Linked DNA regions of Homo sapiens: region 1 is linked to region 2. Evidence: promoter capture Hi-C in human tissues and cell types (Jung and others, 2019). All regions are on one chromosome and are shown on one strand. Each heading gives the region's core, a stretch centred on a gene start or on the middle of the fragment in contact. The rest is flanking DNA. Distances are from core to core; before and after follow the strand shown.

Evidence for each region. The method cuts DNA at HindIII sites, captures the fragments that hold promoters and counts their contacts. A contact is called where the count stands out against the background at its distance.
Region 1: a fragment that was not itself captured here is called in contact with the fragment with the promoter of PRH1 in region 2 in 2 of the 25 tissues and cell types used here (small bowel and spleen).

The regions. Positions count from the first base shown.
Region 1 is chr12:10,785,097-10,792,687 of GRCh38, reverse strand. No RefSeq gene overlaps it. Among named protein-coding and RNA genes, the nearest start is that of TAS2R7, 14 kb to the left of the region's middle. The HindIII fragment of the contact is 8,880 bases long and covers 1-6,794 here.
Region 2 is chr12:10,877,974-10,885,730 of GRCh38, reverse strand. PRH1 (proline rich protein HaeIII subfamily 1) reads left to right here and starts at 1,476. Exons shown (of 4, transcript NM_001393989.1): 1 at 1,476-1,577; 2 at 2,635-2,670; 3 at 3,033-3,514; 4 at 4,675-4,766. The coding sequence starts at 1,514. The coding sequence ends at 3,496. PRH1-PRR4 (PRH1-PRR4 readthrough) reads left to right here. Exons shown (of 10, transcript NR_037918.2): 5 at 1,456-1,577; 6 at 2,635-2,670; 7 at 3,033-3,514. The HindIII fragment of the contact is 11,699 bases long and covers 1-6,040 here.

The DNA of each region.
Region 1 (7,591 bases), core at 1,105-3,604, 94 kb after region 2:
CCTGAAACTGTGAGTCCATTAAACTTCTTTTTCCTTATAAATTACCCAGTCACAGGCATGTCTATTAGCAACGTGAGAACAGACTAATATAATAAATTGGTACCAGGTCGTGGGGCACTGCTGTAAAGATACCGAAAATGTGGAAGCAACTTTGGAAATGGGTAACAGGCAGAGGTTGGAACAGTTTGGAGGGCTCAGAAGAAGACAGGAAAATGTGACAAAGTTTGGAACTTCCTAGAGGTTTGGAGTACTCAGAAGACAAAAAGATGTGGGAGAGTTTGGAACTTCCTAGAGACTGGTTGAATGGCTTTGACCAAAATGCTGATAGCGATATGAACAATAAGGTCCGGGTTGAGGTGGTCTCAGATGAAGATGAGGAACTTTTGGGAACTGAAGTAAAGGTCACTCTTGCTATGCGAAGAGACTGGTGGCATTTTGCCTCTGCAATAGAGTTCTGTGGAACTTTGAGAGAGATGATTAAGGGTATCTGGAAGAAGAAATTTTTAAGTGGCAAAATGGTTCAAGAGGAAGCAGAAAATAAAAGTTTGGGAAATTTGTAGCCTGACAATGCAGTAAAAAAGAAAAACCCATTTTCTGGGAAGAAATTCAAGCCTGCTACAGAAATTTGCGTAAGTAATGAGAAGCCCAATGTTAATCACCAAGACAATGGGGAAAACGTCTTCGGGGCATGTCAGAGACCTTTGCAGCAGCCCCTCCCATCTCAGGCCCAGAGGCCTAGGAGGAAAAAAATGGTTTCAGGGGCTGGCCCCAGGGCCGCCCTGTTGTGTGCAGCCTAGGGACTTAGTGCCCTGCATCCCAGCTGCTCCAGCCATGGCTAAAAGGGGCCAAGGTACAGCTCAGGTCATGGCTTCAGGGGGTACAAGCCCCAAGTTTTGGCAGCTTCCATGTGGTGTTGAGTCTGCAGGTGCACAGAAGTCAATAATTGAGGTTTGGGAACCTCCACCTAGATTTCAGAGAATGTGTGGAAATGCGTGGATGTCCAGGCAGAGGTGTGCTGCAGGGGCTGGGCCCTCATGGAGAACTTCTGCTAAGGCAGTGTGGAAGGGAAATGTGGGGTTGGAGACCTCACACAGAGTCCCCACTTGGGCACTGCCTAGTGGAGCTGTGAGAAGAGGGTCACCATCCTCTACACCCCAAAATGGTAGATCCACCAACAACTTGCACCATGTACCTGGAAAAACTGCAGACACTCAACACCAGCCTGTGAAAGCAGTCAAGAGGGAGGTTGTACCTTGCAAACCCACAGAGGCGGAGCTGCCCAGGGCTGTGGCAGCCCACCTTTTGCATCAGCATAACCTAGATGTGAGACATGGAATCAAAAGAGATCATTTTGGAGCTTTAAGATTTGACTGCCCCATTGGATTTTGGACCTGCATGGGGCCTGTAGCCCCATGCTGTGGGCAATTTCTCCCATTTGGAATGGGTGTATTTACCCAATGCCTGTACTGCCACTGTATCTGGAAAGTAACTAAATTGCTTTTAATTTTACAGGTTCCTAGGTGGAAGAGACTTGCCTTGTCTCAGATGAGACTTTAAACTGTTGACTTTTGAGTGAATGCTGAAATGACTTAAGACTTTGGGGGACTGCTGGGAAGGTATGATTGGTTTTGAAATGTGAGGACATGAGATTTGGGAGGGGGCGGGATGATATGGTTTGGCTGTGTCCCCACCCACATCTTACTTCGAATTGTAATAATCCCCATGTGTTAAGGGCAGGCTCAGGTGGAGGTAATTGAATCACTGGGGCAGTTACCCTTATGCTGCTCTCGTGATAATGAGCGAGTTCTCACAAGATCCGATAGTTTTATATGAAGCTTTTCCCCCTTTTGCTCGGCACTTCTCTTGCCTGCCGTCATGTAAGAGACGTCTCTGCTCCTCCTTTACCTTCCACCTTGATTGTGAGGCCTCCCTAGCCATGTGAAACTGTGAGTCTATTGAATCTCTTTTTCTTTATAAATTACCCAGTCTCAGGTATGTCTTTATTAGCAATGTGAGAGCACACTAATACAGTTCTCTATATAGGTGTATTGTTTTTTAATCTTTTATACTATATTTTTACTATACCTTTTCTATGCTTAGTATGCACAAATACAACTCTGTTACAAGTGCCTACAGTTTTCAGTGCAGTGACATGCTGTACAAGTTTGTAGTCTAGGAGCAATAGGCTGCACCATATAGCCTAGGTGTGTAGTAGGCTATGCCACCTAGGTTTTTGTGAGTACACTAAATCATGTTCACACAATGATAAAATCACCTAACAACACATTTTTCAGGTGTATTGCCATCATTAAACAATGCATGACTGTATTTTATTTTATAGAAGTATCCAGGTAGTAGAGAGAGGTGGGTACAGTTATTCACAAGGAAATAAAATTCAGGCTTGCCTAATAAACATAAAAAACAATAATATATGACACATAAAGTTAAGGAATTGTACACTAAAGCTAGGAGATGCCATTTTCTAAATGTGAAATCAGCAGGGGTGACGTATTTGGTGAAAAGTATCAATTAATACAAACAACTTGGAAAAAGATTTGGCAGTAGGTACTAAAGCCAAACATGCCCATATTCTATGACCTAGCAATTTTTGTTCCAGAAATAGACACAACAGTAATGTAAGATATGTGCACTAAAAAATGTGTATGATTATTAACAGTATGATTTGAAATAGCCCAAATTAGAAATAACTCATATGCCTGTCAGCAGGAAAATAGATGAGTAAATTGTAGTATAGTCATGGAATGGAATATTATATAGCAATGAAAATAACACTACTCCTACCATACTCATAGAAAATGCTGAGTGAAAGAAACTGAACTGGGAAGAGTAAATATTATATTGTTACACTTTACATAAAGTTTGAAACAGTAAAACTAATCAACATGAAAGATATGTGTACAGGCAGTGGAGAGTAGTATCTGAGAAACAGTACAAGGGATTCCTTTGGAGTGTTATAATATAATGTAAAATATTCGTGTATGACTTAGTGAGCTGGACTGCATTACATAGATGTGTTTGCTGTATAAATATCTGTAAATCTGCATAGTTATAATTTGTACATTTTTCTAGAGGTATATTACATTTTAACAATATTTACTTAAAAATTATTAATTACATGATATACATTTGTGTACACTATATAATTTGTTTAAAACTTTGTTAGTAAGAATATAGGAAGCAGCCATTCTCTTATACCTTTGGGGAGTTCAAATTGATGCAATTTTTGGAAGACCAGTTGTACAAACTATCAACATGTAAAGTGTGCCTGGTGTTTTATCCAGAAATCTCAGTCTTAGAATTTATCCTGCAACTATTATTGCATAATAGGTAAATAAATGAATAAGAAATTTTATTGCAGCACTGCTTATAATAGCAAAATACTGGTAACAATATAAATGTTCATCAAATTTGTTAAATAACTTATAGATCACCAATACAAAAAATATATAATTCAGTTATTAAAAAGAATTCAGGAGATATAAATGTGTGGCATGCATATGGAATTATATCCTAACTATATTATTAAATAAAAACAAAGATTAGCATGATCCCATTTCTACATAAAAGGAATATGTATACACATATATATAATGATTTTTTCACTCAGCATTTTGTTGAATGTAGCAGTAGTGTGTTCATTTTCATTTTTATTAATAGCAGTGACCATTTTTCTTTCATTTTCATTAATATAAATTGGTGTAAAACTAAGTGCAGTTTTGCCATCACTTACTTTTGCACCAACCTAATATATGCATATATATATGAGACAGATTTGTGTTCAGAAAATATTTCAAATTACAGACAAAAATGTTATTAGTGATGTATTTCTGGAAATGAAATTGTGGTGGAAGTCAGTAAGACTTTTTCTGTTTATGCTCCTATGTTGTTTAAACATTAATGATAAGTTTTAACATTTTTAAAATACTGTTAAAAATGAAGACCCTAGCCAGCAAGCTGTAGTCTAATAAAATGAAAAAGAACTACCCTGCAATTTGCCTTAAGTCTTAACTTCCCACTTCCTGATTTGCTTCTGCCAGGTTCAGATCTTGGCCTTTAAGCATCACTTGAAGTCTAGTTTTTGCTCCAGTAAACACTTGACACCTTCCTTTCTATCATCCAATAATTAAATTGTTTTAGCCTTTAATTCCACATGGCTCTATGAGGCTTTGACCTTTACCTGCTTTCACTGATAATTGACCTTCATTTTACTCCCTAAAGCCTTCTTCCAAATGTAACTTTTACCTTCACCCCCTGCTCTTTAGAATTAATGAGTCATGATCTTGATTTTAATATTCATATGCCCAAACTTGAGACTGACAATATATGCCCAAAGTATTGTGTAAGCCCTTTTAGCCATCTTATTATTTAATCTAATCCTGACAACCTTGCAAAATAGGTACTATTATCATTCCAATGTTGTAAGAAATAAATTGAGGTATAGATTATATTTATCTCTATTACAAAGCAGCAGTAATCAAAACATTATGGTGCTGGCATAATAACAAGCATATAGACTAATGGGACAGAATAGAATCCAGAAAGAAATTCATGCATTTATATTCAACTAATCTTTGACAAGGATTTCAAGAACACACAATGGGGAAAAGGATAGTCTCTTCAATAAATGCTGTTGGGAGAACTGGATATCCACATGTGGAAGAATGAAAGTAAACACTTATCTCACACCATCTATAAAAATGCACTCAAAATGAACTAAAGGTGAGATCAGAAACTGTAACCCTACTTTTAAAAAAAACATAGAGGCTGGGCGCGGTGGCTCATGCCTATAATCCCAGCACTTTGGAAGGCCGAGGTAAGTGGATCACAGGGTCAGGAGTTGAAGACCAGCCTGGCCAACATGGTGAAACTTGGTCTCTACTAAAAATACAAAAATTAGCCTAGTGTGGTGGCACACACCTGTAGTCCCAGTTACTCGGGAGGCTGAGGCAGAAGAATTGCATGAACCCAAGAGATAGAGGTTGCAGTGAGCTGAGATCGCACCACTGCACTCTAGCCTGGGTGACAGAGCAAGACTCTGTCTCAAAAAAAAAAACAAAAAAAAAAAAACATAGAACAAAACTTCTTGACATTGGTCTGGGCAATGATTTTTTGGATATGATCCCAAAAACACAGATGACAAAAGCAAAAATAAGGAAGTGAGCCTACATCAAAATAAAGACTTCTGCACAGCAAAGGAAAATAATCAACAAAGTGAAGGAAACAGCCTGCAGAAAGGGATAAAATATTTGCAAACCATGTATCTGATTAAGAATTAATATCCCAAATACATAAGGAACTCAAACAACTACCTAGCAAAAAACAACCCAATAACCCGATTAAACAATGGGCAAAGGACCTGAATAGACATTTCTAAAAATACAACATACAAATGGCCAACAGGTCAATGAAAAGGTGCTCAACATCACAAAGCATTAGGGGAATGCATATCAAAACTGCAGTGAGATATCACCTTATAACTATCAGAATGACTATTACCAAAAGACAAAATAAAAGTTTGAGCAAGGATGTGGAGAAAAGGGAACCCCTGTACACTGTTGGTGGAATTGTCAATTAGTACAGCCATTATGGAAAACCATATGGATGTTCTTCAAAGATTTTTGAAAAAGAAGTACCATATAATCCACCAATCCCATTTTTGAGTGCACATGCAAAGGAAATCAAATCAGTATGTTAAAGATATATCTGTAGTGTCATGTTAATTGCTGTTCTAGTCATAATAGCCAAGATATGGAAACAACCTAAGTGTCCATGGATGAATGATTTTTTCAAAAACGGTAAACACATACACACACACACACACACACACACACACACACACACACAGGAATAGTATTCAGCTTATAAAAAGAAGAAAATTCTACCTTTTGCAACAGCATAGATGAACCTGGAGGACATAAGCCAGACACAAAAAGACAACTACTGCATGATCTCACTTAAATGTGGAATCTAAGAGTCAAACTAAAAAATCAGAGAGTAGAATGGTAGAAGAAATGAAGAGATATTGGTCAAAGGGACAAAGTTTCAGTTATGTGGATGAACAAGTTCTAGAGATCTAACATACATTGTGGTGACTATAGTTAATAATACTGTTTTGTATACGTGAAATTTGCTAATAGAGTAGAATTGTCTTATCACAAAACAAACAAACAAAAGGTAACTATGTGAGATGATAGATATATTAATTAGCTTCATTGTGGCAATCATTTCACAATATATATGTATATCAAAACATTAAGTTGTATATGTTAAATATACATAATTTTTATTTATCAGTAATACCTCAATAAAGCTGGGGAAAAAAAGCTGGAATATTTGGATTCATCAAAAGACATCATAAACACACACACAAAAAAAGATACAAAATGGGAGCACTTTTTTTTTTTTTTTGAAACGAAGTTTTGCTCTTTTATCCACCTGGTAGAGCCAGAATTATGGTGGAGAAAGAGAAGCACTTGCCCTGGGTACAGAATTTCAGGGGGTGTCAAAAAACTCAGTAATCAACAACAATGCTCTGTATTTGTTTATTATTTTTATCAATAATTTTAATGCAACATTTAACAATCAAAATTAACACAGAAAAATTCATAATTAGCAAAATGTTGAAATTTTAAATAAATACCAGTGCCATACTATATTAGATACTACAAATATTTTCATACTATCTATATTGAAACTAGAGGCAAAAGGGAAAATATATTCTCCTATATACATGTTTTTATATATTTTTAATGACTTTTTTTGTAGAACATTAAAGTAATGGGAAAATATGCTGAAAAATTGAAAAGTAGGTATATTGAAACTTACAAAATTATTTTTAAGTTTAAATTTTTTTTAACATCACAAAAACATAATTTGTTATAATTTTAATTTCCTGGCTTTCATGGAAGCAAATACATCATAATATTTTTAAGATGTCTTTCTCTGATTGTCTTGTTTTCAGTTAAGAGAATTGCCATGTTTGGATTCCTCAAGGATCCAGAACTAGAAATACCATTTGACCCAGTGATCCCATTACTGGGTATATACCCAAAGGATTATAAATCATGCTACTATAAAGACACACGTATGTTTATTGCAGCACTATTCACAATAGCAAAGACTTGGAACCAACCCAAATGTCCATCAATGATTGACTGGATTAAGAAAATGTGGCACATAGGCCGGGCGCGGTGGCTCACGCCTGTAATCCCAGCACTTTGGGAGGCCGAGGCGGGCGGATCACGAGGTCAGGAGATCGAGACCATCCCGGCTAAAACGGTGAAACCCCGTCTCTACTAAAAATACAAAAAATTAGCCGGGCGTAGTGGCGGGCGCCTGTAGTCCCAGCTACTTGGGAGGCTGAGGCAGGAGAGTGGCGTGAACCCGGGAGGCGGAGCTTGCAGTGAGCCGAGATCGCGCCACTGCACGCCTGCCTGGGCGACAGAGGGAGACTCCGTCTCAAAAAAAAAAAAAAAAGAAAAAGAAAATGTGGGCACATATACACCATGGAATACGATGCACGCATAAAAAAGGATGAGTTCGTGTCCTTTGTAGCAACATGGATGAAGCT
Region 2 (7,757 bases), core at 227-2,726:
TCAAGGTCTGAAATGGAAAGTGCAGCTGGTGATTCTGAGTAGTATATTTTATGAATTGATGAGCAGGGAATTTCTAGGTATCACAGAGCAATCAGCAGCTGAGGAGAGAGCGACAAAACCAGGACTCTGACAGGGCTTTTTGGAAACTTAATTTTTGGAGCAATCAGCAGCTGAGGAGAGAGCTACCAAACCAGGACCCTGACAGGGCTTTTTGGAAACTTAATTTTTTATTGTCAAATTATACAGACAAAAATGAAAGTAAAGGTAGTGAGGAGTACCACACACCTTTACTTAGAAGGATAAATAAAGGACACCTTTGTAGGGAGAAAAAAAAAGATATAGGACGAAAAGTAAACATGGCAAGGTAGACTCAGAATACAAAATTTCAACAAATAAGTGCGAGAAAAAGAATGAGAAAGAATGAGTATTGGAATATTACAGATAAAAATCCTTGGTGAGAAAGAACACTCTGATGAAACAGGTGACATAATTACTGAGTAAAAGCAGAAGACCAATCAAGGCAATTGAGGCTTGGACAGGTATTACAAATTATCTTAGATGAATGTATAATTGTGGCCATTTAATTATCAGTGATGACAATTACAATATTTATTAGAAGAAATAAAGTAGAGGATGAATTCTATGGAATATTCTGGAGAAAGTGGAGGTCTTAGCTATATGACATCGTGTGGCTCACTTAGGGAACCATATATTCAGTTTGTTCAGGTCTAGAAATTCCTTGGTGGTTTCTGAGTTCAGTTTTGCTTTAATAAACCCTAAAGATATTTTTAAAATACAAATATTTTAGCTTGCCTGTGTTGTATAGCACCAAGGCTTGCCTGAGTGTAGTGAGATTCACAGAAGTTTGGACAATTCTTGTAGCCTGAGCAGGCTGCCAGCACCTTTCTCTCATATATGTGTGCCTGGGAGTGTGCTGTCCTCACACATCTCACAGATAAGCAAGACCATCTCTGTTACATGAAAAATTTAGCTAAATGTGAAAATATCCACGCACACACATCATGAGAGATGGAAAGAGGCTATCAAAACAGTCAGAGATATTGACCATCTTCACTGTTAGCTGTAGGATCAGTGTCCACCCCCCGACACACCCACACAAACTCACATACACAGAAATGAAAAGCACAGTGAAAAGCAGAATAGCAGTCTTTCCAAACAGATTGAAAACCAAAAGATGTCTAAAGTTCAATCCTGACACTGTGCCGACTGCTTGGACACAGTTCCGTCAAAACATTTGTCCAAGTCATAGTTGTGCCTTTTAGGAATTAGACACAAACAATATCCTACCCAACCCTTCCTGCTGAGCTAGAGTCCCAAAAGAAATGAGGGATACACTTGACCTGAAGTAAGCAAAGCAGAAGCCAGTCTCTGAGGCGAGGAGGCCCACCTGGTAGGGAGCTCAAATGCACCATTGTCCTGCTTGTCTTTATAAAGGGAGCTGACACGTTTCTCCCAGCACAAAGTTGGGAGTGACACCAGAGCCTCCTGCAAGATGCTTCTGATTCTGCTGTCAGTGGCCCTGCTGGCCTTCAGCTCAGCTCAGGATTTAAATGAAGGTAAGATGAATTGGGGGAAGATATTGTGACTCTGATTGGGGTTTACAGGCAAATGCTATAGAGGAGGAAAGTGGAGGGAAGAGAGGAGGATGAGAAAACAGATGGGACTGCAGAGTTCTCATGCTGAGGATCAGAAGATCTATTGTACCTCCATTCCTCATCAAGGCCTCATAGTTTATTTGTTGCACAAATAGAATCCAATAAAGAATTCGTACTAGGGGTGTGAGAGAGTGAGATTTGCATTATATAGAGACATGGGACTGCTGTGAAGGATGTGGAGAATGCAAGACAGATTCAGGGAAGTACAGCTGTGAAGATCCTGTACTGATCCCAGTAGACAGGGATGATGGTGGCCTTGCTGTACAGTGGATGAGCATTAATGAAGGAGATAAACACATGTCAGAGCTACTGCCGAGGCAGAGAATTGGGTAAACACTTGTCTCTGTCTACATAGAGTTAGAGAATAACCAGAGTGAAACATTGTCATTTTTCTGTCTCCTGAATGTAGTATTTCAATGTGCTGGGAATGGCATGCGTAAGATTATATCCAAGTGGCTATGTCTGGTGGCTCCTGTTGAGAAGGCTTGCAAACATAAACAACATATTTACAGATGAAAGAGGGCAGAAGAATCCCCAAATATGTCATTGAAATACTCAGAGCAGTTTAACTAAATAAGCGCTAAGGGTTTACAGGCAAATGCTATAGAGGAGGAAAGTGGAGGGAAGAGAGGAGGATGAGAAAACAGATGGGACTGCAGAATTTTCATGCCGAGGATCAGAAGACCTATTGTATCTTCATTCCTCATCAAGGCTTGGGGAATCAAAAGAGGACAAACAGGGGCCCTTCTATGTTGAGTTCCTGGTTGACGCTCAGTGTAGTAACAATACTGCTTTCCCTTACATCTTCTTCCACTTCCAGTAGCATCAGAGAGTGGCTGATGAGATCACAAAGGGGATGCACAGGGTGTGATCAGAGGTCCTTTATCCTCGTAGAACACTATGAGCCTTGAATGATTCAGGAAGTAACTTTTCCCATCATCCTGTACTTCTTTTCTAGATGTCAGCCAGGAAGATGTTCCCCTCGTAATATCAGGTAAATCCCAATAAATTCTCAGTAAACTCTGTCTCCATTTTTCCCTGAAAAATTGATGAGTTCTCCAGTGTCTTCTTATCACCATTTTCTTGTCAGGAATTGGCTAATACCAATGCCCCAAAGATACAAACAGTTTTCTCCCAACCTTGATTCTGGGGACCATGAGTAAAGAAATTCAATTTTTCATCACCCTTATGTGGATTAAGAGGAGTTCTAATTAGGAAGCCTTGGGAAGGGGGGAGGTTGGGAGTTGAGAGGCAGGTCAGGCAGAGAGGGGCCGGCCGTGTGGTGAAGACAGAGAGGTATGAAGACAGGAGGGTTTTCCAGCATGAGCTCAGCTCTTCTTGTTTCAACTCACACAGATGGAGGAGACTCTGAGCAGTTCCTAGATGAGGAGCGTCAGGGACCACCTTTGGGAGGACAGCAATCTCAACCCTCTGCTGGTGATGGGAACCAGGATGATGGCCCTCAGCAGGGACCACCCCAACAAGGAGGCCAGCAGCAACAAGGTCCACCACCTCCTCAGGGAAAGCCACAAGGACCACCCCAACAAGGAGGCCAGCAGCAACAAGGTCCACCACCTCCTCAGGGAAAGCCACAAGGACCACCCCAACAGGGAGGCCATCCCCCTCCTCCTCAAGGAAGGCCACAAGGACCACCCCAACAGGGAGGCCATCCCCGTCCTCCTCGAGGAAGGCCACAAGGACCACCCCAACAGGGAGGCCATCAGCAAGGTCCTCCCCCACCTCCTCCTGGAAAGCCCCAGGGACCACCTCCCCAAGGGGGCCGCCCACAAGGACCTCCACAGGGGCAGTCTCCTCAGTAATCTAGGATTCAATGACAGGTACGATTCCAGTTTATTATCCATCAAAGGCTCCAACTGCTACAGTTCTCCAACTTCATTGTGCCAATGAATCCTCTGAAAACCTGTTAATATTGCCCTGTCCTGGAACACATTTCTAAAAATTGTTATTCAGATATTCTTGTATAGAGTATCAAGACCCTGTGACCCTGTGTTTTACAGAAGCTCTTGAAGGCAATTCTGATTTTGAGAATCACTATCTTCAAATTACATGTCTTAAGTAGGGTTGACAATGAGGACATAGAACCATGTTCCCCCTTTGGCTCTCTCTATTTTCTTTCCTCAAACTCAGACTCCCATTTAAAGTTTTCACCTGAACATGCTTTGCTCAGTCCTGCCTCACATCAGGCTTTCAGGTCCAGTATTCCTGCTAAGTGGTCCTTGAACTTTCAGTTGTAAAATGGTATCTCATTTTTAGTATACTTACATTTAAAGTCATACATGCTTAAGCTAACAAAAACTAATCTCACTGAACCGAAATGTACAGAGCTAAATAGTAAGAGCCTAACTCATCTTTCCTCCCTTCTATCCTTCTCAAAACCCCCACCTTTTACTCTTTGGAATCTACTTTTTGAAATATATATTGCTACATAAATATATATAATGCTTTTATTACAAGCACTTATACCATACTGTATATTCAGATTTGTGTCTTACTCACTGGAAAAATTTATTGTTTAGAAAACTTTCTCATGAGTTCATTTAGATCTCTTCAGTGTTTATTGGTTAGTTTGTTTTTACAATTGTATACTATTCTATTGTTTGGTTGTTCCGTAATCTATTTAACCAATCCCTGTCACTGGATATTAAGGCTGGATTCACATTCTCACTATTATATGATATGTTGCAGTGCCCATCTTTGTAAAAATAGCCCTTACATAACCAACAGCAGCAAAGCATGAACACATAACAATAATTGTTTCTCTTTCTCATCTAAGCAACACTTTAAATCACATTATGTGCAATGGCTTAAAGAGTGAACAAAGAAAATATTACTAAGGAGAAGGGGGCTGTAGAAGGGATAGAGGGCAAGAGTAGGGGCTTGCATCTCCATCACTGCAGTAACCCCCAGTGAGGGATTAGACATTTCCTGCCATGTCAAGTGTTGTCTGTAATCTTCCTTGTTTGCTTGTCTTTTTCAGGAAGTGAATAAGAAGATAACAGTGTTTCAAATGCCGTGAAACATGGCATCATGCTCTAACTTCAGTATACCAATAAAACAATCAGCTTGCAATTTCTGCTGGTGGTGTCTCTTTCTGAGTGTTTGGGACTCTAGAATCTGAGACCCATGTTCACATTGTAAGAATATCCAGGACCCCTTCTCCTTGATGTTTCCAGCAAGCTTCTCTCCTCCTTATCCTTATTAAGTCATCCACCTGGGGAAGGAGTTCCACTGTTTCTTTCCTTCTCTGTCTTCTATAGCTCGAATTTAAGTTGTACAATTATTTTCAGGTCATTTCTTGATATTCTAGTCAGCTTATGAATGTAAGCAAAACAATACCAATGAAAGAAAATCCCAGAAGCTGAGAGAAATTTTAACAAGTTCAAAAGTAACCGATTTTGTTTTCTAGGGAAATGAGTATGGTTCTATGCCTCTATTCCCCAGAAGCCACTAGACCTATTTTCCCATATTTTATCACTGATCAGTTCTGTCCCTGCCTATGAGTCTTACTATTCTTAAGAAAACCTAAATGGATTTCATCAGAGGCAGCCTGACTTGAATGGGCAAAGAATTTGGAATCTCTCAGATTGCAGTTTAAGAACTATGTCTTGCTAACTCTGGACTCATAGGAAGCTACTTAAGTCTCAGAGCCTAAGTTTCCTCTTCTAAATTTTTGAATAATCAAAATGGCTCCCCTAAAGGATGAAGACTAAGCAGATCACATACATGAAACACTAGTGGATATAGTCATGTCTGCTTCACAATAATGATTTTAGGAAAGAACAGCAGACATGAAATTGTGAGGAATTAAATGTTCCCGAGTTAAAAATCTTAAGATTTCTTTGTCCAAAAAATCTAAGTAGAATAGTCTCTGATATTGTTTTTTTCTAGGCTTTCAAACAAAATAGGAACACACTGAGTATTCATATTTTTTTTAGCATTTTCTTTCTTATCAGACCCGTAAAATTCTAATTAGGTTTTTTTTAAAAAAAATAGTATCTGCTTATGGAAATTTAATTATGACAATTAGAAATGCAGGCTCTTTCTTCCTCCTCCTCCTCCTCTTCCTTCTTTTTTATTTCTCCTACTCCATCTCCCTCTTTTTCTTTTTTGAAAAAATATGCTTAAATTTGCCTTCAATTATATTTATTTATTTATTTATTTATTTATTTATTTATTTATTTTGAGATGGAGTCTCATTCTGTCACCCAGGCTGGCCTGCAGTGGCAAGATATCGGCTCACTGCAACCTCCGCCTCCCAGGTTCAAGCGATTCTCCTGCCTCAGCCTCCTGAGTAGCTGGGATTACAAGCATGCACCACCATGCCTGGCTAATTTTTGTATTTTTAGTTAAGACGGGGTTTCACCATGTTGGTCAGGCTGGTATCGAACTCCTGACCTCGTGTTCCATCCGCCTCGGCATCCCAAAGTGCTGTGATTACAGGCGTGAGCCACCGCACCCGGTCACCCTCAATTTATTTTTAAACTTTATTTTTATAAATATATGTGGTTCAAAGATAATTTTGTTACATGTATACATTGCATAATGGTTAAATCATGGCCTTAGGGTTTCCATAACAAGAATAACAAATATTGCATTTACTAATTAATGTCTAACTCTTAATTCCCTCCCACCCACTCACTCTTCCAAGGCTTCAGTGTCTATAGTTCTCCCCTCTATATCTATGTAAACACATTTTAGCACCTACTTATTAGTGACAACATGTTATACTTGACTTTCTGTATCTGGCCTTTGTCACATAGCATATTATCTGTCACATCCAGTTCCATTCGTATTGCTACAAAAGGAGTGATTTCGTTCCTTCTTTTTTTTTTTTTTTTTTTTTTTTGCAGAGTAGTATTGCATTGTGTATATATCACGATTTCTTTACCTACAAACCCATTAGTATCCATTGATGGTTACTTAGGTTGATGCCATATCTTTGCTGTTGTGTATGGTGTTTCAATAAACATAGAAGTGCAGATTTATTTTTCATATACTGATTTCATTTCCTCTGCATAGATACAGTAGTAAGATTGCTAGATTGAATAGTAATCGAGTTTTAGTTCTTTGAGAAATCATACTGTTTTCCATAGAGTTTATACTATTTACTTTCCAATCAGGGTGTATAAGAGCTCTCCTTTCTCCACATCCATCCCAACATCTGTTTTGTTTGTTTGTTTGTTTTAATCATAGCCATTCTGAATAGGGTAAGGTGATAGTGTGGTTTTGATTTTTATTTCTCTGATGATTAGTGATATAGAGTATTTTTCACATACTGTTGATTATTTGTATGTCTTATTTGAAAAGATGTCCATTTCTATCTCTTGTTCACTTTTTAATGGACTATTTTGTTGTTTTTGAGTTGTTTGTTTGTATATTCTGGTTATTATTCTCTGCCAGTCCTATGCTCAGTAGGGTTATCATTGGGAGCTGTGTAGACATTGCCACTAGTCCAAACTCAGAAGTGAGGCATAGGGGAGCATAACATGCCTGGCAGGGGCTCTCGAAGCTTGGGCAGATCAGTCCTGGGCTCCAGCCCAACGTCTAGTGTGCTTCTCTAGCAGACAGCCCTGTGCCCCCCTCCTCCCACCTCTCAGATTGCGGGGTCAGGATTGTTACAGGGAAACACAGACACCTTTAGTCTCTATGCCAGCTTATATGAGCAATCTCCAAGCAACAGGCTGAAGGACTTACATGGAAATGTGATCTAAACCTAGAGTCTAGCTTGCTTTATAATGTGTGATTATTAAGAGTTGGAGTATGTTAGCCACTAATTGTCTTCTTGCACTGAGCCCTGAAAATGTTAAATTTGGGCTTTTGGATAATCATTGGGCCCTTTCGATATGGAGAATTAACCTTTAGTTCTGGGAAATGTATTGTTTCATTGATGTGTTTCTCAATATATTCTGGTTTCTTGGTCTGAAATTAATGATTGTTGATATTAAAGAGAACAGGTTATAGAAGGTGGAAATCAAGATTCTACTTGGTACACGGTATGTTTACATTCATTTTAAATGACAGGTGGATTGCTGAGGTCCTTGACTCCTGTACAGATGCCTA